7 separate regions of the Homo sapiens genome follow, and regions 1, 2, 3, 4, 5 and 6 are each linked to region 7. Evidence: promoter capture Hi-C in 16 types of primary human blood cells and fetal thymus (Javierre and others, 2016). All regions are on one chromosome and are shown on one strand. Each heading gives the region's core, a stretch centred on a gene start or on the middle of the fragment in contact. The rest is flanking DNA. Distances are from core to core; before and after follow the strand shown.

The links. The method cuts DNA at HindIII sites, captures the fragments that hold promoters and counts their contacts. A CHiCAGO score of 5 or more calls a contact.
Region 1: the fragment with the promoter of SARNP here is called in contact with the fragment with the promoter of R3HDM2 in region 7 in 5 of 17 cell types (naive CD4 T cells, total B cells, non-activated CD4 T cells and 2 more); the score reaches 8.5 in naive CD4 T cells.
Region 2: the fragment with the promoter of PA2G4 here is called in contact with the fragment with the promoter of R3HDM2 in region 7 in 1 of 17 cell types (monocytes); the score reaches 7.5 in monocytes.
Region 3: the fragment with the promoter of BLOC1S1 here is called in contact with the fragment with the promoter of R3HDM2 in region 7 in 1 of 17 cell types (fetal thymus); the score reaches 5.7 in fetal thymus.
Region 4: a contact is called between the fragment with the promoter of STAT2 here and the fragment with the promoter of R3HDM2 in region 7, in 3 of 17 cell types (non-activated CD4 T cells, monocytes and naive CD8 T cells). The highest score is 8.9, in non-activated CD4 T cells.
Region 5: the fragment with the promoter of NABP2 here is called in contact with the fragment with the promoter of R3HDM2 in region 7 in 1 of 17 cell types (monocytes); the score reaches 6.4 in monocytes.
Region 6: a contact is called between the fragment with the promoter of RPS26 here and the fragment with the promoter of R3HDM2 in region 7, in 2 of 17 cell types (fetal thymus and monocytes). The highest score is 7.2, in fetal thymus.

What each region holds. Positions count from the first base shown.
Region 1 is chr12:55,816,431-55,820,286 of GRCh38, reverse strand. SARNP (SAP domain containing ribonucleoprotein) reads left to right here and starts at 2,563. Exons shown (of 11, transcript NM_033082.4): 1 at 2,563-2,621. The coding sequence starts at 2,586. It overlaps ORMDL2 (ORMDL sphingolipid biosynthesis regulator 2), which reads right to left and starts at 2,246. Exons shown (of 4, transcript NM_014182.5): 1 at 2,175-2,246; 2 at 1,114-1,288; 3 at 794-945; 4 at 1-27. The coding sequence starts at 1,287. The HindIII fragment of the contact is 4,326 bases long and covers 1-3,710 here.
Region 2 is chr12:56,102,271-56,106,000 of GRCh38, reverse strand. PA2G4 (proliferation-associated 2G4) reads right to left here and starts at 1,442. Exons shown (of 13, transcript NM_006191.3): 1 at 1,176-1,442. The coding sequence starts at 1,263. It overlaps ERBB3 (erb-b2 receptor tyrosine kinase 3), which reads right to left. Exons shown (of 28, transcript NM_001982.4): 28 at 2,496-3,730. It overlaps LOC105369782 (a long non-coding RNA gene), which reads left to right and starts at 1,582. Exons shown (of 2, transcript XR_944995.4): 1 at 1,582-1,713; 2 at 2,083-2,187. RefSeq lists enhancers at 1,168-1,387, 1,398-1,747. The HindIII fragment of the contact is 2,269 bases long and covers 379-2,647 here.
Region 3 is chr12:55,714,796-55,717,383 of GRCh38, reverse strand. BLOC1S1 (biogenesis of lysosomal organelles complex 1 subunit 1) reads right to left here and starts at 1,338. Exons shown (of 4, transcript NM_001487.4): 1 at 1,188-1,338; 2 at 379-451. The coding sequence starts at 1,332. It overlaps BLOC1S1-RDH5 (BLOC1S1-RDH5 readthrough), which reads right to left and starts at 1,350. Exons shown (of 6, transcript NR_037658.1): 1 at 1,188-1,350; 2 at 379-451. It also overlaps a transcript of ITGA7 not described here. RefSeq lists enhancers at 634-873, 1,154-1,293. The HindIII fragment of the contact is 4,864 bases long and covers 406-2,588 here.
Region 4 is chr12:56,358,462-56,362,096 of GRCh38, reverse strand. STAT2 (signal transducer and activator of transcription 2) reads left to right here and starts at 1,990. Exons shown (of 24, transcript NM_005419.4): 1 at 1,990-2,039. It overlaps APOF (apolipoprotein F), which reads left to right. Exons shown (of 2, transcript NM_001638.4): 2 at 1-1,529. The coding sequence ends at 872. RefSeq lists enhancers at 1,508-1,597, 1,668-1,847, 2,923-3,092, 2,924-3,123. The HindIII fragment of the contact is 2,677 bases long and covers 1-2,483 here.
Region 5 is chr12:56,222,094-56,225,804 of GRCh38, reverse strand. It overlaps NABP2 (nucleic acid binding protein 2), which reads right to left and starts at 1,463. Exons shown (of 7, transcript NM_024068.4): 1 at 1,364-1,463; 2 at 870-971; 3 at 294-432; 4 at 110-181. The coding sequence starts at 948. RefSeq lists a silencer at 1,375-1,614 and enhancers at 2,346-2,640, 2,057-2,990, 3,472-3,691, 2,991-3,711. The HindIII fragment of the contact is 18,635 bases long and covers 1-3,391 here.
Region 6 is chr12:56,040,668-56,044,406 of GRCh38, reverse strand. RPS26 (ribosomal protein S26) reads right to left here and starts at 2,489. Exons shown (of 4, transcript NM_001029.5): 1 at 2,238-2,489; 2 at 1,805-1,982; 3 at 914-1,044; 4 at 1-288. The coding sequence starts at 2,240. The coding sequence ends at 253. RefSeq lists enhancers at 1,801-2,060, 2,201-2,530, 1,979-2,768 and a silencer at 2,681-2,740. The HindIII fragment of the contact is 3,314 bases long and covers 90-3,403 here.
Region 7 is chr12:57,429,472-57,433,250 of GRCh38, reverse strand. R3HDM2 (R3H domain containing 2) reads left to right here and starts at 2,208. Exons shown (of 24, transcript NM_001394031.1): 1 at 2,208-2,531. R3HDM2-DT (R3HDM2 divergent transcript) reads right to left here and starts at 2,135. Exons shown (of 2, transcript NR_185976.1): 1 at 1,821-2,135. RefSeq lists a silencer at 2,307-2,776 and an enhancer at 2,957-3,066. The HindIII fragment of the contact is 10,065 bases long and covers 1-3,779 here.

The DNA.
Region 1 (3,856 bases), core at 1,314-3,813, 1.6 Mb after region 7:
TTGGTATAGAAGCTGGCCAGGAGATAGCTGGGGAGAGAAAAAAATAGGGTGAGTGAGGTTGACCTTCTCTATCCATATTCTTTTTTTTTTTTAAGAGACAGTTCTCACCATGTTTCCCAGGTTGGAGTGCAGTGGCTATTCATAAGTGTGATACGTGCAGTACAACCTCAAACTCCTGGGCTCAAACAATCCTTCTGCCATAGCCTCCCAAGTAGCTGGGACTCCAGGCATGCACCACAGTGCCCTGCTCTTTCTCTTCTATTTTAAATGACCAGTTTTACTGTATATAGTTCTAGATTATCTAAAACTATTCCAGCTATATCAACAGCATTTACTTTGGGGTTCAGGAGATAGCACCCTTAACTGGAGACTGTAAGTCAGTATCTGTTAATTGTTAATGACATGGCAAATGACGGCTCAAGCTATTTCAGTCTGTATGACTGTTACAGTCCTCTTTGCTTCCACTCCCTACAGTGTTTTTGAAGATTAATATCAGTTCTGCCTTTATTTACTTCTTTTGGCAGTGTAAAATCATTTGGTTTTATTTGGCACTTATCTTTTCTCAGTCCCTTCATTTCCTTACTACCAAGGAGGCAGCAAGGAATGCTTGATTACAGTATTGACTGTAATCTACATTTTACTGCTCTCTGTAGGCTTAGAACTAGTATACCATAATATCTTCAAAGGGTTTTAGATGAGAAGTCTGCTTTTTAACAGCTTCCCTATGGGCCTTTCTACCTGGCTCTTGGAGCTCTTTCTAACCCAGCATATCTCATTTCCCCCATAGACTCACAGCACAATAGGAGAGATGCTGAGGAACTTGCGGGAAGAGGTAAACTGGAGCCCATAGTCCATTTGCTCCCAGTGTGTCAGTAGCCGAGCCTTTCCTTGGTCAGGAGTCTCAAAGGGTGTCCCTTTCACCGTATGAAGGAAGACATACGTAGCCTGGGAACAGGGAAGGTGGCAGTGTGAGGGGCAGAAAGTAGTTTTTCAGTCAAAGAATTATGTTAAGATCCCAAAAGGAACACATAAATCCCCAAACAATTGGTGATTTTATTTTGCTTTTGGTTGGGAAACCCTGGGGTGGGTACAAGGGCGTGGTTTAGTGCTCACCAGGTTATGGATGACGTTGGTCAGGGTCCAGACAACAGGAATGCTGAAGAAGGGGATGCTGAGTAGAACCATATGCAGCAATCCTACCAAGATGATGTAGGCCAGCCAGATGCCTCGGCTATTCATCACTCGGGTGTTGGGGTTTACTTCGCTGTGTGCCACCCCCACATTCATCCTAGCCGTAATGGGGGATCAGGCAGGAGTCCAGCTCAGTTTTTTCTCAACCCCTCTTGAGCTATCTCCCAGTTGTCTCTCAGATAGCCCCAATCCCCTGAACTCTATTGGGAATGAAGAACTTACCCATCACGCAGAAAATAAAAACTGAAGACTTGGGGAAAACTTTAAAAGACAAGAAGAGTCCTCACTACATTTCAGAGACATAGTCATTATTGCTCTGATCTTTACACGTCAACTGTAACATGAAGGTGTATGTGTAGGCTTGGGGCACTCACTTCAGGGAGCAAGGGAAATAGGAGTATCTGACTTTGCTGAAGAAGTTAATAACCATGAAGAGGTCACGTACACCCAGAATTCCAGGCGAAAGTCATGGAATCATCAAAGAACCACTAAGAAGGGATGACAGAGTAAAGCTCACTCTGGTCCCCACTTTGTTCTCTGGGGCTTGTCCACCCTCTCTCTCACCTCCGTGGCATGTAAACAGTCTGCATCCCCATTACTTCTCTCAAGCGTGGGGCACGACAACAACTTGCCCACGGCTTCTGGACTGGGTTAGGAAGGGACCTGAGCTCAATACCTCGAAAGGTGGAGCCTTGGCTCTGACTCCAGGGGCAGCAGTGATTATCTGAACTCGGATCTTTAAAATTGTGGTAGCTCTAAAGCTGATGATGTCTGGTTAGGAAGCGGCTCTTGCCCGCCCCAGCCCCACCGCCAGTTCCTTAAGCCCGCCCCATGCCCCTCCCAGCTTCCTCCTCATGTTCATCGGTTTTTTCAGGGCTCCCTTCAGCGCTCCCCTCTCAGTATTTAGGTCACCACTCCCTCGGCGCCCCTTTCGCCTCCCACCATTTTTCCTCAGCAACCCTTACAGTCTTTGCAGCTCCTACCTGCCAGCTCAGATCCCCGTCCGGCTATGGGCGCGGCGCCGGCTACCACACCTGAAGTCTCCAGGAAGTAACGCCTCTCCTTCTGCCCCTTTCCTATTGGAGGAACAGAATCAGCGCTGCCACCACCCATTGGTTGGTGGTCTGTAATGCAGAAGCACAGTTGGTTGCCATTTCTGTCGTTCGCAAGATACAGTGCCCGCCCCTCTCCCAGTTCCACCTTTTGAAAGAGGTGGGGCAAGCTGCCTAGAGAAGTGAGAGCGACGTCAGCTATTGACCAATGGGAAGAGCTGATGGTATGGCGTGGGAGCAAGAGTGACAACGATTGGTCAGCCTTGCATCTCTACGCCTAAGGCGGGAGCTCCTGGAGGCGGAGGCCGCGGGTGGGGGCCTAGTGGAGTGAGGGGTAACAAGATGGCGACCGAGACGGTGGAGCTCCATAAGCTAAAGGTACCGTGAATCGGGGAAGGGCTGAGTTGGACTTTTCTAGGAACTGAATTCTACAGGGTAGCTTGCGCCTTCTCCTACGTCTTCTCCGTGCAGCCTTTTCCACTTCGTTTCTCGGCTCCCGCCGTAGCTCTTTTGTGCCACCCTTCCACACTACGCCTTCCCTAATTTCCCATTTCTCCTCACGGCTTTACTGCTATATTTATTTGTTATTTCTGCTTCCTTCATCATTGTATCGTCCGTCACCCTTCCCCACTGGGTTGTGTAAGTGCCTTCTACCTGTTATACTCTTCGTTGCTTTTCAGGGCTGCATTACGTCAGTTGGTCCCTCCTTTTTGCCCCATGTCGGAGCCAGGATCCGTTTTTCTTCCCTGGGATGATGTTTCCAGTCTGTCGTCCGAAGCTGAGATTTCCCTGTTAGCAAATGGTGGCATTTTTGTGTATTTCTGTCTAAATAGGTACCAGACACTCAGAAAATACTTCCACTCCCCTTTTCTAGGTGGGATTACGCCCCAAGCCGAATTTTGAAACAGGGAGAGGCCTCTCAGAAGATCGGTCTCGCCTTAGAAGCCTGGGGTTGAGGAGGTCTTGAGAATAGTAGAAGTACAGACACCTCAGATTTAAAAGTTTTCGAGTTCTGTCACGCGGCTCTCGGCCCGCCAGCCTTCCTCACACACCATCTCCAACCACCAGAGAGAACTCACACCTGCAATATTTGGGAAAAACAATTCCAAGGTTAAGATTATCTCTGTTCCATTTCATATCTCGGGTGGGCCCTGCATCTCCTGGTGTTACCATTGGCTGACACTGAATCACAGAAGCTATTTTAAATTGTCTTATGAGACTCTTGGTAGTTTTTTCACACTTAGATATATAAAAAAGTTAAAAAAATATATTAAAAAGAAGAACATTTTAAAAAGTATTTTCTTTTAGGGTAAATTAAGATATCTTGAGTAATTGTCTGTTTGTGGTTTCACAAGTAGTTTTCCCATTAGATGTTTTGGACAAACCAGGCTGATATAGCTGAAACTGAAAAGTGATCCTTTAAAGCTCGAAAAGTTTTTTTTTGTTTTTGTTGCTGTTAAGAAAGCTTAAGGGTAGTAAGGGTAGGGAGAGGACCCTTCTTTAGTCACTTATTAGTTGACCCCAATTAGTCTTTCTGTGAAACTGATGTTTTTCTTACTCTTGGATTCTAAACTCTGTTAGTGGGTTTTTGTGTTATTCTGGAGTTATTGTTA
Region 2 (3,730 bases), core at 193-2,692, 1.3 Mb after region 7:
AAAAGGCACCAAAAACCAGGGTACGATACTAAATGTCCACTGTGATATAAAGCACAGGTTTGACTTTTGGTATCTCAGTTTTGGTGATTCTTTGAAAGCTGGTAAAACTCAGATTTTCACCCACAGGACGGGAGGCATCCTAAATACCTGTTCCCCACCATCTTTGCTGTTAAAACCATTTAAAAGCACAATGACAAGCAGTTTGTATCTCCCTAACTGGAATAAAATGGAAAGGCTAACTGGAAAGAGAGAAAAGAGAAAGTGGCATCTGCCTAGAGTGACAGGCAACTGCTGAGATCGTCAGAGCACACCTGGAGTAAGGATGACTTGTGAAAATCCTAAAATCAGTCCTCCCTTTTCCAGTAATGTTCACAAGCTTGCCTAGTTGGGATAAGACGGAGACCCCAAAACATTTGAGTTGTCAAGTCACTGAGAACAACAAATGTGAATGCTAACTAAGACTATCTGCACAGATTGGAAAGGTGGTAGTAATGAGTAACTTCAAGAAAAGCCATATATATCTCCAAGACTTGCATTAGAAGCTCCAGGAGTGCTCTCCAACGGTCTCCTTAGCTGGCCCAAGGTAGAAGGGGGCCCCCACCAGGGTAAGAGCTGAAGTAAAGAAGGAAAGGCTCCAGCAAAGCACGTGGTGGGGAAGCTGGTGGTGGGGAAGCTGGTGTCAGGGACACTAGCGGAGTAAGAAGGGGGCCAGCCATCCGCAATGGGACCCAGCAACACGTGCCGGCTTGGCTCCTGACGCCCCGGAGACGCTACAAAAACAGAGGGGCACTTCTGTCGCCAATAGCTGGGCGCTTCCTTTTCGAGGTGGCCTCGCCGCTGCCAGAATCAGAGGAAGCAATAATCGGGAATGAAGGATAGGAACAAGAGAAAACACGTCTTGCCTCCTAACAAACGGCCTCGGGTCGGAGCCTGCCAGGGTCCCCTCTCTGCGCTCATCCTGGTCGCCGACCCGCACCTCCATAGACTTCAGCCTGGGCCTGCCCGCTCAGGTCCCAGGCGCGACACCGGGTCTTCCCACCACGCCGTGCCCAGCGGACCGGTGCGGGCCCCTCAGTAGCTCAGTCCGCATGACCCCTCCGCTCCAGCCCCTTCCGGGCCAGCCTGTTACCTTTCCCTATCAGCCTTGATTCCCCGACCCCCGAGGCCGCACTCACTGTTGGCGATGTCGCCCCCCATCTTATACTTGGTCACGACCAGGTCCTCAGCGATAGTTTGCTCCTGTTGCTCGTCCTCGCCCGACATCTTCCTACTACCACCACTGCAGCCTCGTTTCCCCTGAGCCGCCGCCGCCTCTGTCTCCCTTCCCAGCCACAGGCTGTGGTCAGAGTCCCCTCGATCCTCGAGGAGAGGGCGAGCGAAAGCGCGAGCAAGCAAGGGAGCGGGCAGGCAGGCGAGAGCGAGAAGCTGCGAGCGCGCGGGCTGAGGCGCAGGGCACGCTGGGACAACTAGTCCTCTCGGCCGCCAGACTCTAGCCGCTCTCGAGGGCCTTCGAACTACAATTCCCAGCCTGCCTCTCGCGCTCCTAAGCCAGGCCCTGGGGCCTTGCCCTCCAAGGGCCTCGCACGCCGGAATCGCCGGGCACTCTGGGAAGGGTCAGGCTCCGGCGGGAAGGCGGAGCCGTTGGGGAGCTTGAGGGGAAGCGTGGTCTCTCCCGGAAAAACCACTTCCACCGAGAACGCTGAGCGAGAGCCAGTAACAGAGAGGGGCGGGCTGAGGGGAGAGGGGCGGAGCTACGGCGGGGAAATAGGTTTAAAGTCGAGCGGGCAGGGGTGGAGTAGAGTGGAGCCGCAGCGGGTGGGCAGTGTCTACACCTAGGTCGGGGAGGCTGGGTGCGCCCTTCTTCGGATCCCTGGGTCGGCTGGCGAAACCCGCCCAGCCGGTCCAGTCGTCCTCCGAAGCTGGGAGAACAGGGAGGGGCAGACAGGTGGAAGAAGACCAAGGGTGCTGGTAACGGGGGCTAACTGGGCAGCCAGACACCGGAGGGATCATCCATTTAAAGGCCTCGCAATCTAGAGGCCGGACTCCTAATGAAGTAACATGACTTTATTGTTCCAATAACAGGCACCTGGATGGAGCACCTAAGGGAAGTGTTCAGAAAGACATGTTTGTTGAGAGTTCTTACCGTGAAAAAATAAAAAGATTTGATGACTTTTCTAAGATAATGAATTCAGAAGCATCTGGAGGTTTCAGTGTTTGGCCTCTGAAGGAGGGCTTATAGGGCTTTTTATAAGTCCTAAAGCACGTAGGTTCTTTTTGTTATTCCCAATTGGTTGCCTTGTAGATTCCTACTAAAACCCTTAATGAAAAGGACTATGCGCTATGGTTGTTCTAAAGAAATAGAAGTAATAGTAGGACTAGAGAAAGCTGCATGGGACAGAGTAGCACTGTCAGAACACAGAAAGGTGAGTATCCACTGCTGAGGAGCAGATCTCTTATCTAACATACGAAATGTCTTCATTTGACAGACAGGAAGCTGAAAAAAAACTTTGGCATTTTTATTCAGACACGTATAAAAACAAAACAAAAAACTTCAGTGATACAACAGACGTTTTCCCTTAGTTCCCCATCCAAGGGGACAGAGGTGTGCAGCTGAAGCTGGATCTTTTTTCTGTCCTACCTGGAAGCTTCTCACTGCTGGATGAGAATGGCTTCTAAAAGTGGATCTTGGGGATCCTTGTGAATTTGCCCTCGGATAAGGAGTGAAGATCATTTACGGCACATGTGGATTATGGTTTACACAAAGATGTCCAGTTATTTTTCCTTCTGACTACCCCCACCACCACTTCCTGAGATGAGATGTCTAGGTATAGGAGGATGTGGCTGTTGGGGTTAGACTTGATTCAGTGCAAAAACAAGAAACAGTGCCCCTTAAACAAGGGCTGTAACTTAAATCAGTTTTTCTTGGCACCTTACAATAAGAGCACATGCACAGGAATTGGGAGGATTTTGCATCCTGGATCTACTGCTTAATTTATTTCATCTCTTTAAGGCTCAGTTTCTTTTTTTTTTTTCCCCTGTAGAGACAGTGTCTTGCTATGTTTCCATAGGCTTATCTCTAATTCTGGGCTCAAGTGATCTTCCCATCTCAGCCTCCCAAAGTGCTGGCTGGGATTACAGGCATGAGCCACTGCACCCAGTTCTAAAGTTTTTTTTTTTTTTTTTTTTTTTTTTTTAAAGAGATGGGGGTCTTACTATGTTGGCTAAGCTGGTCTCAAACTCCTTGCCTCAGGTAATCCTTCTGCCTCAGCCTCCCAAAGTGCTGAGATTACAGGCATGAGCCACCATGCCCGACTTCCCTTTGTGTAAAATGAGATAATATGTATGTCACAGAATTGTTTTAAGGATGATAAAGGACTAAGTGAGATAATGTAGGTGAAGTTTAGTATGATGCCTGGCTCATAGTTAAGTGCTGAATTATGATAGTAATCAATATCTACTCCTAACCTCTTTCTTCACAGATTTTAAGCTTCTGTCTTTCTAGGGGGTTAAGAGTCATAAACCAAAATTACACTTTCCTCTGCTAGGTTTCCTCCCTTTCCTCTTCTTGACAGTCTGATGGGAAACAAAGGCACACATAAGAGCCTAGTTCCAAGTAGTCAAGAGCCTGAGAGGAAGGGATATGGAGAGTAATCCTTCATATCTCCAGGAGTGCCTGTGAAGAAGCTGAGGAATGGGACTGGGAAAGCACACAAAATAAGGAAAACCTTTC
Region 3 (2,588 bases), core at 89-2,588, 1.7 Mb after region 7:
AGAGGGTGGGAGGCAGAGGAGAGGGTGGTAAGCTGTAATGAAGGAGGGTGCTCTCCCTCCTGCTGAAGTGACAGCTGGACTTGGAAGGGTGAAGGGAGGTGGGCAGATGGCATCAAGTTGTAAATGCCAGGGAAGTTAACGTGGGGAAGGGGAAATCTGGCTGCTTCTCTAACCACGGCAGCTGTTCCTCCCTTGCCCAGTGCTAGGACTCAGAGTTGACTCAAGTTGCTCTACAAAGAGCTGGGAGGGGCGGGGTAGGATAGGGGAATTAGTGGAACATCCCACCCCTTCAACAGCTATTTGAGGGCCAGACTGGCCAGTGCCTAAACTTGGGCGGGGTGGGGAAGGAGGAAACTGATGTTGATAAGAGGTCCATACCCCACATTGAGGTGATCCACCAAAGCTTCTGTCAGGCAGGTCGCTGCAGTGATAGCCTCTCGCCTCCTCTTTTCTGGGGAGAGGGGGAAAAGGAATTGGAGGGGAGACTTGGTTTTTTGAGGGGTAGTGTTAAAGGTTCCCTACCCATCCATTACTATTCTGCTAGTTGCCGAAATTTCTTAACTAATCTCTGAATGCCGGAGCTGAAAAGGACCTTGCAAAACATAGCGCAACCTCTTTCATTTTAGAGATGAGGAAACTGGTACCCTGGGAGGGAAATGGACTCACTCAGGGACGCCAGGAAGTCAGCGGCAGCGCCCAGGACTCCTGACTCCCAGGCACTCTTTCTCCACTACTCGGCCGCAGAATCGGTAACTCCGAGATTTCCAGCCCGGACTCAGGAAACAAGTGCCCCACCTCCGTTCCGGTGGTTTCAGGCCTCCAAGAAGCCCATCTCTGGGGGGTTCCCCACACCCTCCTCCCTCCAGAGTCGCTCCTTCCCGCCGCCAGGACGAGAGGCTCCCAGGGCCAATAGGCAGGGCGCTCCGGGGCAGGGGCGGGGCTAAGGTGCGGCAGGTCGGGGATTGGGGGCGTTGCCGAGGGGACCGGAGTATTGCCCAAGGGACCGGAGCCAGTTGGCAAGGGAAAGGAGTTTCAAAAAAAGCCTCTCTGAAATTCCCTCTCCCCCATGCCCGTTGCCCGCTAGCTGGCGTCTTTCCCTGGATATGGTTAGTTACTCGAGATCCAGGCTCCGGGCTGAAGCTAGGCCGCGGCCGAAGAGAAAACGGCCGACAGGATATTTGGCTCACCCTGCAGCTCCTTGCGTTCATTCTGCTTGGCCTGGTGTTCTTTTAGGAGGCGGGACAGCATGGTCACGTCGGGCTGGGGGCTGGGTACGCCGGGCCCCCTCCGGCTCCGGAAGCTGGAACGCTCACCTCGGCTCCCCGGGGCCATGTCACGTGACCGCTGTGTCACGTGAGGTTGGGAACCGCCCTCTTGAGACCTTGGGTGAAGATCTTGGCGGGGAAGAGAGGTAGAGGGTTGCGGAGGGCAGGTGAAGTGTTCTTTATTGGGAGCTTAGTTTTTGGTGAGTGTTGGAAGAAGTATTTTCTAATACTTATATTGCCAAGCCAGTTTTTAACATTTCCTGTGGATCTCAGGCTTCGAGGGCTGGTGGTGTCAGGCCGTCTATCACCGTTTAATTGAGGGAGCAGAAGCTCCCTGGCCTCATTTAAATTATTCTCCTTCCCTCTCCTCACCTCCTGGCAGTGCTAGCTGGTTCTCAGTTGATTCCCAGTTCCTTCCCTCAAGGAGAGGATGCTTTCCTGTCTCTCCCAACCCTCTTTCTTCTCACTACCCCACTGAAGTCTCTCAGCTCTGGGTGATCATTGTAGAGAAGCATTTTAGGCACTTCAGACAGCCTCCTAGGGAGCTTGGCTAACTTGGCGGGCTGTGTGAATGTAGAATTTCATCTCTGTCCTTTTGTGGTCAGGAATGCGAACCCATTTCAGTGTTAGCAGAAGCGTAAGTGCTGTGCCAAAGTAAAAAGTAATTTATATAAGGCCTCTGTGAACTAAAAAGAAATGCTTCCGGGATTAACTCCAGCGAGAACAATTATAAACATCATGAGCATATTCTTGCTACTGGTACAATCTCTCTCGGTGCACCTTGCACTAACATGTTGGGTGACTTTGGGCAAGTTGCTCACCATTCTAGGTTATAGTTTTCTCTTTAGTAAAACTAGGAGAAGGGATTGGATTAAATCGGTGGTTCTCAACCCTGGCTAAGCATTAGAATCTAAACATTAGAATCACAGAAATCACAAGGCTTATAAAAATGCCGTGATTAGCCGGGTGCGGTGGCTCACGCCCGTAATCCCAGCACTTTGGGAGGCCGAGGCGGGCGGATCACGAGGTCAGGAGTTCGAGACCAGGCTGACCAACATGGTGAAACCTTGTATCTACTAAAAATACAAAATTTAGCCAGGCGTAGTGGCACAAGCCTGTAATCCCAGCTACTCAGGAGCCTGAGGCAGGAGAATCGCTTGAACCTGGGAGGCAGAGGTTGCAGTGAGCCGAGATCACGCCACTGAACTCCAGCCTGGGCGACAGAGTGGGACTCTGTCTCAAAAAAAAAAAAAAAAAAGCCTTGATTCCAGACTAATTAAATAGAATCTAAGGAGTGAAGACCAAACATCACTATATATATGT
Region 4 (3,635 bases), core at 741-3,240, 1.1 Mb after region 7:
CTTCATATGGAAAGCAGACAAATGTCTTGATGCACTTTCCCTTGTCCTTGGAATCCCAGACACCCTCCTCAGACCCCTTGTCCTGCCAATTTCTGCACCCAAAGTCACTGCCTGGTTTCAGCCACATGGCCCCTCTACCCAAGTTCTTGGTAAGCCTGGCTCTAAGGAATGCCCTGGAGGAAGCTGGTTGTCAGGCTGATGTTTGGGCTCTACAGCTACAGCTCTACCGCCAGGGTGGTGTGAATGCTACACAGGTCCTCATCCAGCATCTTCGAGGGCTCCAGAAAGGCAGAAGCACAGAGAGGAACGTGTCAGTGGAAGCCCTGGCCTCTGCTCTGCAGCTGTTAGCCAGGGAGCAGCAAAGCACAGGAAGGGTCGGGCGCTCCCTCCCGACAGAGGACTGTGAGAATGAGAAGGAGCAAGCTGTGCACAATGTAGTCCAGCTGCTGCCAGGAGTGGGAACCTTCTACAACCTGGGCACAGCTTTGTATTATGCTACTCAAAACTGCCTGGGCAAGGCCAGGGAACGAGGCCGAGATGGGGCCATAGATCTGGGATATGACCTTCTGATGACCATGGCTGGGATGTCAGGGGGGCCTATGGGTCTAGCGATCAGTGCTGCACTTAAACCTGCATTAAGGTCTGGGGTTCAGCAGTTGATCCAGTATTACCAAGATCAGAAAGACGCAAACATCTCTCAGCCGGAGACCACCAAGGAGGGTTTGAGGGCCATCTCAGATGTGAGTGACTTGGAAGAAACAACTACTCTGGCTTCTTTCATATCAGAAGTAGTAAGTTCAGCTCCCTACTGGGGGTGGGCCATAATCAAGAGCTATGACTTAGATCCTGGGGCTGGGAGTCTTGAGATATAAAAGAATGTGGTAACCACAGAATTAATAACTGTACTACCCTGACAAGCTATATACATGTCTTCAAAATTTTAATCTGATTTATCCAGGAGGAAGGCTGTACAGTAAAACGTAAGAACGTAAATGTTTGGGTGTTGAAGTCACAGGGTTTGGTTTCGAATCTAGGCTCCACTTGTTAGAGCCTCGGTGATCACTGAATAGTAACTTCTTTCTTGAACTAAGATCAGTTTTGAAGTTTCTAAAGGAGATAGAATGATTTTAACCTCAATGAGTTGCCCTGTAAATTTAAAATGATACAATGAATCTAAAATGCTTATCACAGTACTTTCAATAAATAGCTATTAGCCAGGTGCGGTGGCTCACGCCTGTAATCCCAGCACTGTGAGAGGCTGAGGCGGGATGATCACCTGAGGTCAGGAGTTCAAGATCAGCCTGGGCAACATGGCGAAACCCCGTCTCTACAATAAATACAAAAAATTATCCTGGCGGAGTTATGCACGCTTGTAGTCCCAACTACCTGGGAGGCTGAGGCGGGAGAATCACCTGAGCCTGGGAGGTCGAGGCTGCAGCGAGCCGAGATCGCGCCGCTGCATTCCAGCCTGGGTGACAGAGCGAGACCATGTCTCAAAAAATAAAAATAAAAAAAAATTGTTTTCATTACCTCAGCCCTCCTCTTCCTATCCCAAGGCGTCGAAATTCCGGTCCCACCCCTTCCCATGGAGCCCTTGGCGTCTCCAGGCTCCTCAAGCTAGTTTCGGTTCCGGGGCTCACGCGCGGGTTCTCGAAAATCAGCTGTTTCAGTCTTGGGCTAGTCCACTAATTGGACTCCTCCCCTCGTAGAAAGTGCCTACTTGAACTTCTCCACCAATCGCTGAAGCTGCAGGTGTGGTTTCGGCTCAGCTTGTCCCGCCCTGCGGAGGGGCGGAGTTGCGGCGGCGCCAGTGAGCTCGCAGTCTGGGAAGGGCTTGACTGAATGGCAGCCAGTGTCGGGGTGGCGGCTGGGAATGGGGGCCGCTCCGGACTTCCGCTGCCAACTACAAGGGGGCGGGTCCGAGGGGGGTTAGCCGAAGTTGTAGGCGGGGCGCGAGGTTCTAGTACCCGAGCTCATACTAGGGACGGGAAGTCGCGACCAGAGCCATTGGAGGGCGCGGGGACTGCAACCCTAATCAGGTACGGGCCCTGAGAGGGTGTGCTGGGGTAGGGGTGGGGGTGAGAGTGAGAGTTCCTCCGAGGGAAGGGCGACTGGCCCCAGGGGTTACCCCCTGGAGAGGGTAGCTTCGGTCCCCAGATTGAAATAGGAGCTGTCGCCTGCTCGGTCCTCGATCTTCTTCTGTCCAGCCTATCTCCCTAACCCTAATGCCCCTCTCCCAAAACTGCCCTGCAGCTTCCGAGACCCGGAATCTGGCATTGTTATGTTGGTTCGGTATCTGACGTTTTTCCCTCTGCTCTGCATTATTTTTTATCTTCACCAAAAAACGATGTTCAAAGATAGATAAATCTAAAAACAAAGATAGATAAATCTATTATCCTTGTTTTGTTAAAAAGTATAAGCTACTGAAAGATGAAACGATTGCCTAAGGTCACACACAAAATTCAGTTCATTTCAGAAAAGCTTCTTGAGTGCAAAATATGTGCCTAAGAATGAGAGATAATGAGAAAAAATTGTTTCAGCCCTTAACCTCAGTGTTTGCAATCCATTTGGGGAGACCAGGTTTTTTGTTTTGTTTTCATATTTGAATCTTTGCTGACTTGCTCCTTTAATATCAGACACTTAAATCCTCAAGAATTGGGACCTCATCATTAATTTTTTTTTGGAGATGGAATCTCACTATGTTGCTCAAGCTTGGTCTCAAACTCCTGGGCTCAAGCCATCCTCTCGTCTTGTGGGCCTCACAAAGTGCTGGGATTACAGGCATGAGCCATCATGCCTGGCCACCTGATCATTTTTTTAACTTTTTTTTGGTATCATAAAAGCAATACAGATACATAGTTTTAAAAATCAAGCACTACTAAAAGAGTTAAAATGAAAATAGCCCCTGCCCAATCCCTCCCTTCCCTTGTTCCTGCTGGAGGTAGAAAGGCAGCTGATGTTATTCATGTTAGTAGAAGACTCTCCCACCCCAAGCATTTCTCTTTATTTTGTAATAAAATCATGTGACCTTTTTAGACCACAAATATGCATGAATTCTGTTCTGTTAGGCTCAGGCTGCAACAAGCATAAGTTTCAGTTTCCTAAATAGACACCAGCTGGCAGTGAGCAGGGAACAGTGGGGAGAAAGATGCATGGGACAGCCTGCTTGGTGACAGGCAAAAACCAATTTGTTGTTCTTTTGAGACAGAGTCTTGCTTTGTCACCCAGGCTGGAGTGTAGTGATGTGATCTCTGCTTACTGCAACCCCTGCCTCCTGGGTACAAGCCATTCTCCTGCCTCAGCCTCTTGAGTAGCTGGGATTACAGGCAACAATTTTAAGTGAAGTTTCAGGATCTCACAAAGTTGATAACCTATAATCATATTCAAGATTCACAGGTCATAAACGTGTCATATTCTTGGGATTGAGCCACCCATTGCACAGCATTTAGATGTCTTCTAGAATGGAGCTCCTCCTTCCTATATGGAGGGCAGTTTATATGGTGTACTTACCTGACCACCAAAAAGATTTGGCTCCTAAAAAAGCTTCAGGTGGCCGGGCATGGTGGTTCACCCCTGTAATCCCAGCACTTTGGGAGGCCAAGGTGGGCAGATCACCTGAGGTCAGAAGTTCCAGA
Region 5 (3,711 bases), core at 214-2,713, 1.2 Mb after region 7:
AAACAGAAAAAGTCCAGAAATGAGGCTTGGACTGCACACCCTATGCTGCCTCCTTGCAAACCCCTTTGCCCTGGTGCTTCTTCATCCCAATCCCCAAGACAGCACTTACTCTCCAATCTTCTGCAGATCACCCCCACGGCCAGTATATAGTGTCAGACAACCTTTGAAAACTGAAGCGTACCTATGGGAGGCAAAAAAAGCAAAATTCAGTACTCAGAAGTGTTATAGGGACTGTTAACCCCACTCTTGATTGTTGTTGCCTTTGGAAGGCCAGAAGTCACCAGCTGACTTACCCTTTGGTGAGCCGGATAATGTCCCCAGGCTGGATCAGATTGCCAACATCGTCCCAGACAGAGATATTGATGCTGCCTGTTTTGTCCGCCACTTTGCAGGTCCGAACCTCATGCCCGTCCTTTGTCTTGGTCACTCGGCCTGAACGGAACAGATAAATCGAGGTGGGAGGATGGTCAAATAAATGGAGTGGTATCTCTCAGAAGGATGAGATGTGGATATTGGTGGAATGAGGGAAAAGGTGTACAAACAGGGGAAAGCCCAAATCCCTGGGGCATAAAGGGTTGGGATTGTGGAAGGGGTGGTGGAGGGTGGAGGTGGGAGTTCAGGGGCCAGCACCATGGAGAGGGCCCTGAGTGGAAAGAGGCCCGCGTCGCACAGGAGGTCTAGATCTGGCAAGAGTTCTATCTACCCTATACCTGACTGCAACTTTCTGTCCCAGGGTCGAAGAGATTGGGAGTGAGGAGTGTCTTGCAGCTTGCCTTGCCATCCCCATAGCAAGTTAAGAACGCAGACAGCGTTCTTCCCCTCCTGCCCCCGACCCCCATCCCGCGAACCCGCCACCCCAGTATAGACACCTGTCTCCAGCACAATGAAGATAAGGTTCAGATTCTTGAGCCCAGGCTTGATATCCTTCACAAAGGTCTCCGTCGTCATGCTGCCTGAGCCTCGGCACCCCACTGGATGGGGAATAGAGGATGAAGGCTCAATGCTTGGATCCTTTGCCCCCATGCTCCACTTCCCAAGGCCTACCTACCCCATTAGGCTGGGGTCAGGCAGCCTCAACCCCTCTAACCCTTCTAAAAGATTAAAAAAGAACATCCCCGGAGGCCTCCAACTTCAGGATCAGAATTTGGGGGTCTCTGGACAGGCTGCTTTGGGGCTGGAAGGCCCCCTGCCGGGATGCTCTTTTAGTCTCAAGCCGCGAAGTGGCGGAGCCGACGTAGACAGGGGTAGGGAACCCGGTGCACAGCCAGGGAGTAGAATCTTACTGGCCAGATCTTCCGGAACCCTCATCCCGACAAGCCGGGACTCGGTCCATCCCCTCCCCTACCCGCAGCCCACCACCCACCCAAGCCAGCCGGCAGGACTGTGCACGCCGCTGAGCAGCCCGCAGGGGGAGCCACAGGCTCCGCTGCCGCCGGATGCTGCCCCGTGGAACGCGGGAGTGCGGACATTCCCGGAAGTTTCCCCCGGCTGGCCTCCTCCGGCCAATCAGCACCGCCCGGGCGCGCCCTGCGTCCCGCCGCCTGCCCTGCCCAGCCAATCGGGATCAGAGACTCGTGCGCCGCGAAGGGGGCGAATTTCAGGTATTAAAGGAACCTTGGAGATAGTTGGCTCTGTAGGGGGAAAAATCCACCACTAGAAGGCGCACAGGGCCCCCAGTTTTCCTTAACTTGGCTAGGGAGAATGCACTTAGGTTCTAAGACGTTTCTTTCCAAAGAGTGACACAATGGGAAAAGGAGCAAGGGCTTCGGAATCTGGCGGACAAAAGTTTGAATCCTGGCTCAATGCTTCACTTCATTTCTCGACTATTTAAACATATGTAATTCCAATTCCGCAAGGCGCGGTGGCTCACGCCTGTAATCCCAGCACGTAGGGAGGCATAGGCTGGAGGATAGCATGAGTCCAGGAGTTCCAGACCTGCCTGGGCAATATAACGAGACCCCATTCTCCACAAAAAGGGAAAAAAAGACAAAAAATATGTAATTCCATCTTACGAGAAAACGGAAGTTATATTTAAAAAAGTGCCTTGCACACAGTAGGCACACACGGTTTCCTCCCTTTTTATTGCTCTAACCGTTATCTTTGTTCCTGATTTGGGGTTCTCATCTTTAATGCACTACCCAGCTTGGTCAAGGTCTCTGGGAAAAGTGGCATTTACACCAGAGACAAAAGGCAGGCTCACCCTTCTTGGAAGAAATGGAACCTGCGACAAAGAGAGAAACATTGTTAGTCCCTTTTTTTTTTTTTTTTGAAACAGGGTCTCGCTGTGTAACCCAGGCTGGAGTGTAGTGGTGCAATCTTGGCTTACTGCAACCTCCCACCACAGCCTCCGTAGTAGCTGGTACTACAGGTTCGCACTACCACCCTCGGCTAATTTCTGTATTTTTTTTGTAGAGACAGTTTCGCCATGTTTCCCAGGCTGGTCTCGGACTCATGACCTCAAGGGATCCGCCCACCTCGTCCTCCCAAAGTGCTAGGATTACAGGCGTGAGCCGCTGCACCTGGCCATACTACTCTTCCCCGCCCCGCCCCACCGCTCCACCCCGGCAAAGGAGTCTTGCTCTGTCGCCCAGGTTGGAGTGCAGTGGCGCGATCTCGGCTCACTGCAATGCAACCTCTGCCTCCCGGGTTCAAGCGATTCTCCTGTCTCAGCCTCCCGAGTAGCTGGGATTACAGGCGCCCGCCACCACGCCCGGCTACTTTTTTTGTATTTTTAGTAGAGACGGGGTTTCACCACGTTGGCCAGCCTGGGCTCAAACTCCTGACCTCGTGATCCACCAGCCTCGGTCTCCCAAAGTGTTGGGATTAAAGGCATGAACCACCGCGCCCGGCCATACTACTCTTATCTTACTTATCTCAGAGTCCCGCTAGAAGACAGCAGAAAGGAGGCCTGAAACTTTAGTTCCTTTTGGGACCTGTCAAATTGTCCACAAAAGGTAGCTAGCTCTGTATTGTTGTGTATAAACAAATTACATAAAGATATGTGTGTATGTGTGTATTAATGTGCATTAGCATTTGCTTAGCCAATGTCCACAATAAATACCATACTATTTAATACCAGATTAGTCTAGGAAGTCATGTGATTGTAATGCCTTGGTTTGCTTAATTAATCCCTTATCTGCTCACGGAGCTCTTTAGGCTCCACATTGACTTCCCTTGGATCCCACGTTCTCTACCGCCCACATCCCCAACACCACGGTGTTGTAAGCTAAGGAAATCAAACCCCAACTCAGGAAGAGGGAAATTTTTTCTCCCTTCCTTCCTCTTAGGTGTTTCAGGGAACTCCACAAGTGTTCGGGGAGCCATCGTGGATACGGCAGGAGAGCGCCTGGGAGAGAGGCAGACAACCCGTTGAGCACCCCAGATCTAAGCTTTGCGGTCAGACTCCCTCACTCCCCACCCCGCGGCCGCCTTGTTAACTGCAATATCCATTCCCATGACAGGAGTCAAGGGGTTACGAAGCTCTGGGATGCTGACCAGGGCTCTGGAAAAGGGAGAGGGGCCGGACCCGCAGCAGGTCACGCTGCAGGCCTGCCTCTCCGCAATGATCTCGCAACAATCTGCGTCAGCTCTAAGACACAAGTCACCTGCACCCCTCCAAAGCGAAGCGTGGCCGGCCAGGCCCACACGTTTTTGCCGGGAAGAACATAGAGTTCTCCCTCCTAAATGGCTACATAGTCCTGGCTGGGACCA
Region 6 (3,739 bases), core at 1,240-3,739, 1.4 Mb after region 7:
ACGCCACTGCAATTCAGCTTGGGCGACAAAGACTCCGTCTCAAAAAAAAAAAAAAAAAAAAGAAAAAAATTAAATTACATGAATAAGCTTTCTTCCCCATGAAAATAATGTGTGTCACTTCACACTTGGTCTAACACACAAAATCCCCACCTTATCTGGCACAGATACACTTAACATGCAATATTAAGTACAATTTCCATTTTATTTTTCTCCAGAGAATAGCCTGTCTTCAGTCTTTAAGAACTCAGCTCCTTACATGGGCTTTGGTGGGGGACGTGGGGCAGCACCCTGAAAGACAAAGAAACAAAAGAGTAAATTAAAACCCATGGATCCAAGACTCCCTTCCCCCAAAGAACTTGACCACCATCCTCTCACAAACTGATGTATTCAGGCTACAAATGCATGGGAAGCTGATAGAGGTGGAGGGAGAACACTACTCTGCATCCTAAAAACCAATTCTGATTCTAACACTGCTTTGCAGTGTCTCTAAGCATGTTCAGGTGTGGGTCTCACCTGCCTTACAGCTTAACCTGAGGCACAGACCTTAATTTGATACCCCCTGCACCACAGGAGGAAGCAACTTTTTTTTTTTTTTAAGAGACAAGGTCTCACTTTTGCCCTGGCTGGAGCGCAAGTGGTATAATCATAGCTCACTGCAACCTCAAACTCCTGGGCTCAAGTGATCCTCCTGCCTCAGCCTCTCGAGCAGCCAGACTATAGGTTCACACTATCATGCTTGGCTTCCTTCTCAATATTTTTTGAAGAGATGGGGTCTTGAACTGCTGGTTTCTAGCAATCTTCTTGTCCCAGCCTCCCAAAGTGTTGAGGTTACAGGTATAGGACACCCTGACCCTCCAGGATGAAATTTTAACCATCACTCCCCTGGCTTCCATTCTCCTTTTAAAATACTCACCGCAGGTCTAAATCGGGGTGGGGGTGTTCGGTCCTTGCGGGCTTCACGAGATCGATTCCTGACTACTTTGCTGTGAATTGCACAACTCACACAGTAATGTAGCTTCACATACAGCTTGGGAAGCACATAGGCTAAGGAATAGAAAATAGAGTTATACTGGTATTATATACCTACCTTGCTTTTTTGTTACATGAATGAAGAGCACCTTACATGTTTACGTCAATTAAAACTAAACCTATTTAAATGCCTGTCGGGCACATAAAAGCACCCCCAAAGCACCTGTTCAGCCCAATACCTGAGCACATATGTATAACCCTCAGTTTTACAAGTGAATTAACATCCCACGTGAGTTCATCTTGACACCGCAAGGACCAGACTGACATTCTAAATGCAATAAACCAATAATCCAGTTCCTTCTACACCTACACCCGCCCTAATGCCTACCCTGAACCTTGCTCTTTCTATAAAAGGAAAAAAACAAAGCGACGTTCTTATTGCTCCAAACATCATCCTTGCACACCAAACTAGACGGCCTCCATTCTCGAAACGTTGAAGACATTCTTCCTCACCTGTATATTTTCACAAATATTCAAATAATCAATAGCACAAGAATTGTCAAATTTACCAAGTTTCTAGTTTTTGCAATCTCATAACCGAAACAGGCAAACCTTTACCTCAGAGTAAAGGCTGTGCACTCTATCACAAAGTCACCCTCTGCCCAGAAAAGAATCAAAACGGCAAACAAGAGAATTCTCTTCTACCAGTAACAACCTTAAATACGTGGAAATTGCCTGAGAGGCTCCAAAGAACAGAGCCTCCAAAAGGGCGAAGTTGGGCGAAGGCTTTAAGATACTGGGATCCTCACACAGTTCGCGCCGGTGACCCACTTACCATCGAAGACGCTCGCTTCAGAAATGTCCCTGACTGCTGCGGCCTCCACTATGTTTCGAATGACGAATTTCTTAATGGCCTTGTCCTTGGGCACGCATCGGGCACAGTTAGTGCAGCGAATAGGCTGCACGTGGCCGCGGCCCTTTTTGGCACGACCATTGTTCCTTCTTTTCTTTGTCTGCGACAGGATGGGAAAACTGTTAGGAAAACGGCGCAACTCACCCAGCCTCAGTCCCTTTCCGGCCACAAGCCGCACCGGCAGCCTCCAGGAAGGCGCCGCTCGGATCTCCTGTTTCTCCGCAAATCCCGCCGACCCCCAGAGCAAATGAAATGTACACTCGGTCCACCCCTCAGCCGTGCTCCAGGCTCTCACTTCCCCACAATCCCAGAGTCTGCACCCGAACCCCCACCCTCACCACGCAAGAAGACTCACCATCTTGGAGGCACGGACCGGAGAGAGGAGACGGTGCCTGGCAGGGCCCTCCTATATAGCATGAGATCCCTACGCGGACACCGGGAGAATCCTTAGGAGACGGGCTTCAAGAACGGCAACTCACTTTACTCAAATATTCCTTTACATTCAGCATTTCTGCTGAAATCTAGGGTGGAAATGCGTTCCTAGTGTTTATTTATCCATGGAACAAAGTGCACATGGGACTATTTAGCCGGATGGCGGAAGAAAATCGAGGTTATGTGTCTCCCAGCAAGCCTTGCGCCGCGCCGACTCGGAAGCAATTCTGGACGATGCAGTTTTCCGGTATACGCGACGCTAGGCGTGAAAGTTGCCAGACGCTGGACCACAAGGCGCACTCGTTATTAGAGGCCAGAGAGGGACAGATGCTTGGTGGGAATTGTAGTGCGAAGCCAAGAGGCTCCCCCCTCCCCCCCTTCCCCCCTGCCCCAAGTGCTTAGACCGAAGGCGGCGCTGCGCCACCGGGGGACGCCCTGGGCTCATTTCTCTGACAGTCCTTCTACTAGGTAGGTGTAGGATTACGAAGAGGAAGGCCTGAGAGGAAACAAGCATTTTGTGAATCCCTCCTTCCAATATGGAGAAAATCCCACAATGAAGTGCATTGAGGCTGGGGCTATTTCTCATTCATCTTTTTATCTCTGGCACAGTGCCTGGCCCTGTGGTAAGCGTCTTTATAAATATTAACTCATTTAACTTTGAGCAAGCCTATAGGTAGCTACTATTATTATCCTCACTTTAAAGATTGAAGAATTTAGCCCGGCCTGGTGGTGGGCGCCTGTAATCCCAGGTACTCAGGAGGCTAAGACAGGAGAATCTTGAACCTGGGAGGCGGAGTTTCCAGTGAGCCGAGATCGCGCCACTGCACTCTAGCCTGGGTAAAAAGATCGAAACTCTGTCTCAAAAATAAATAAATCAATTAAAAAAAAAGATTGAAGAACTGACGTGCAGTAGGTATTCTGGCTCCGCTGTACTATGCTGTATGTCACCTAACAAATGGATGGAGGAATAGCCTGGACTAATGACTTAAACGTTTTTCACCCAGATTCATAGCACGAATACATTTTACATTGGTACCCAGTACACACACAAACACGATTACATGCACATGCAAAACTGAAACACAAGCTTTATGAAACGATACTTACCCTTGTCATAGGTGTGCTGGTATGTTCTATTCTTTATTTTTACTTAATCTTTCTGTTCTCTATTTTAATAAATGCTGATCAAAAACCACGAAAATTATTTCACCACTCATTAGTGAATCTGACCCCTAATTGAAAGATTATGTGTAAGCTCCATTTACCTCTGAAGAGCCATCGGAAAGACTTAAGCCTTAGGCTGGGTGCAGTGGCTCACGCCTGTAATCCCAACACTTTGGGAGGCCAAGGCAGGCGGATCACCTGAGGTCAGGAGTTCAAGACCAGCCTAGTCAACATAGTGACACCCCACCTCTACTAAAAATA
Region 7 (3,779 bases), core at 959-3,458:
TGAGCTATGTATTCATCTCTTGAAATTGCTTGCTATTGCCACAAGTAACTATAAATTAACATAATAATGCTGCACTGGACACTATAACCTAGATCCTATAGCTTAACAATCTATAGCCAATCACTAATCAATGTTATTTCTGTAAACCAACAAGAATACCCGACAACTTTGTATCAGTCTACTCCCTGTCTCCTTCTTTTTTGCCCTTAAAAATGTGCTTGTAGGCTGGGCGTGATGGCTCACGTCTGTAATTCCAGCACTTTGGGAGGCTGAAGTGGGCAGTTCACTTGAGGTCAGGAGTTCGAGACGAGCCTGGCCAGCATGGTGATACCCCATCTGTACTAAAAATACCAAAGAAAAATAAAAAAATAAATAAAATAAAAATAAGCCGGGCGTGGTGGCACATGCCTGTAGTCCCAGCTACCTGAGAGGCTGAGGCAGGAGAATCACTTGAACCCGGGAGGTGGAGGTTGCAGTGAGCTGAGATCATGCCACTGCACTCCAGCCTGGGCGACAGAGCAAGACTCCGTCTCAAAAAAAATAAAAAAAAATCTGGAACTTTGGTTTCATTATTGTGCCTCAGGTTTCCTCATCTATAAAACAGGTATAATAATAGTACCTATTGTATTGAGGATTTGATACTAACAATAGATGTAGAATGCTACACATTTTATATTGTACTTACATACACATAATACAAATATTAGCTATTATTTCCTACTGGTCATCACTGCCTGGTCTGGAACTCCTGAGCTCAAATGATCCACCTGCCTTGGCCTCCCAAAGTGCTAGGTGTGAGCCACTGCGCCCGGCCAAGACAAAAAGTTTAAATCGTGGTGAAAAGTGGCAGGTTAGATCAGTTCAGTTCAGTTGTATTTTTCTTCCCCCGTTGTTGTTCTCTAGAGGGTTGAGAGAATTTGGGGGCAGGAGGCAGTGATGACCAGGAGAGAGGGCTGGGCAAGGTGGCTCACACCTGTAATCCCAGAACTTTGGAAGGCCGAGGCGGGTGGATCACCTGAGGCCAGGAGTTCGAGATTAGCCTGGCCAACATGGCAAAACCCCGTCTCTACTAAAAATACAAAAAATAGCCGGGTGTGATGGTGCGTGCCTGTAGTCCCAGCTACTCCGGACGCTGAGGCAGGAGAATCACTTGAACCTGAGAGGTGAAGGTTGTAGTGAACCGACATTGCACCACTGCAATCTAGTTGCCTGGGTGACAAAGCGAGACCCCATCTCAAAATAAATAAAACAAACAAACAAACAAACAAAAAACGCCAACCAACCTGGAACTTGCTCATCCTTGAAGGAAAGATGAACTTCATGCCTCTATGACTTTGCTGGAATCTCCATTCTTACCTCTCTAGTGAACTATTTATAGTCTCAAGATTAGCTGGAGTTTCACCTGTAGTTTCTCTGTAACTTACTCAATCTCTTTTACCGCTAAGAACGAATTGCTGTTCCTTGTGTTTCCATAGCACATTTAAACCTTTCTATTATAGCACTTAAATTGTACTATAATTATTTGACTTTTTTTGCCTACCGCAGTTTCTGTCACAAGGTAAATATTTAATGGTCGAATTCTACAAAAGACTACATTGCTTCTTTGAGGGAGTTTGGTCAGTAAATTATCCACACACACATAATCAATAACTAAATTGATTCTGCCTAGAATGGACAAAACGGGGGAGGCTGGACATTTAAGACGATTTTTGAGAACTGTATCTTAGAGAGGGGATGATGGTAAGAATGTGATCTTAATAGGACAGACTGAGTTCCTCCTAGGTCGGTTTTTTTCATCTTTACGTAAAATGGACATTTACCTGCTCAACTATAGTTATCCACGTATGCAACAAATACCGAGTGTACGTTCTTTTGGTACAGGAGTTACTGCCCTAAGTGAAAGTGCTCTGTAAATGGAAATTACTTTAGAATGATCACTATTAGTATTATATTGAAATCCAGGGTATTCTATCTGACAGACTTGAAGGGTTTAAGGAGGACCGAGGCTCCCAGTGACTCCGGATTGGTGTCCTGACACAGGTAACGCGGAAGGAGGAGAGGGCGAGCGAGCGAGTGCGAGTGCGCGCGCGCCGGCGGGAGTGCGTGCGGCAGGCGGTAGGCCCCGCAGGGCTGCTGAGGGGCACGCGGGAAGCCAGGAAGCAGGGACGGCCGGAACGCAGGACGAGGTGACGACAACGCCGGACGTAGTGACGTAGCGCGCAGCCGCAGCGGGGGGCGGACTCTGGGCTTTTCTTCCCCTTCTGATTTTCCCCTCCCCCCTTTTCTCCCTTTCCGGGTTTGGTTCCCCCCTTTTCTTCCCCTCTCCCCCCTCCTTCCCAAGCCCCTTTCCCCTCCCCCGTCCCAGTCCCCCCTGCTTCCCAGCCCTCGGCCCCGGGGAAGCCCCGGCCGAGAAAAGCCCGCCCCCAGAAGCGCGCCGCCGCCGGCCGTCGGGGCCGAGCCGCAGCCGAGCGGCCGTGGGCCCGGGCGGCGGGCGGAGACGTGGGCGCCCTCCCCGCCAAGGCCCGTGCGAGGTGAGGCCACCTCCCGGCCGAGGGGGCGGGCGGCCCGGACGGCCTGTGGGGAGGGGGCGTGGCGGCCGCACGGGCGGGCGCGAGGAGGCCCCGCGGCCTGGGTTCCTCGCGCCCGGCAGCCGGTCCCGGGGACGATGGGTCAGGGTCGGATGGCCGCGGGAAGGACTGCTCCAAGTGTGCGCTGCTGGAGAGAAGCTGGGGGCGCGGGGCGGAGGGCGGCGGTGCGGGGGCAGGGGGGTGGCGCCACCTGTGGCCTTTGCGGGGTGACCTAAAAACTATTGCGCCCTTCCAGTGCTTCGGGGTGGCTAGCTCCGTGTGTTTCTTGGGTGGCGGTTTTCCTTCGAGCGTGGAGCATGGAAAAATAGGACGGAGAGGTGTAGAAGTGTTTAAAATCATGCTGGTGTCCAGGTTTCTTACAGGGACGGGGATTTGAGTTGGCACATACAGGGAGATGTTTCTATAGCTTAAAACTTGGGCCTACACTAAGCTCATAACTACTCGAGCCCCTGAAAACGCTTCGATTCGTTTTCCCGTAGAGCTAACATTTTTCAACATTTGTGGCCATTAAGTCTCGGAACTACCAGGAATACTGACTTAGAGTGAATTGTCATTGGATAATGATGAGAAATGACCGAATAACAATCCCAGAACTGCGTTAAAACGGAAGAAAGAAAAGTGGAAAAGTTTGAATTCAGATCCCAGTTGGATGAATATCCTTGTACATAATGTTGTTCAAATAGATAACTAAGATTGAGAAGCCTGAGTCCTGTCTGATATGCGTAAGCCACGTGGAGACTCAAGGAAGGAGGAAAGTGACAGGTTTCACTTCAGGAATATCACAAATTCCTAGCATTTTCTTGTATTTTTAGATAGATTTGCAGTTGAATTATTTGTGGCTCTTCTTCCTAATGCTTTTTTTTGTTGTTGTTCCACCAATATTCCCCCCCCACCCCCGCCCCCCTTTTTGTTGCTGGGGTATCAAGACAAAAGGTTGTATTTTGTTTTTTGAGACAGGGTCTCAGTCTGTCACCCAGAATGGAGTGTAGTGGTTCCTTTTCGGCTCAATGCAACCTCTGCCTCCTGGCCTCAAGCCGTCCTCCTACCTCAGTCCCCCAAGTAGCTGGGAGTACAGGCATGAGCCACCACTCCTGGCTGATTTTTGTAGAGACGGGTTTCACCTTGCTGCCCAGGCTGGTCTGGAACTCCTGGGCTCAAGTGATCCACCTGCCTTGGCCTCCCAAAGTGGTA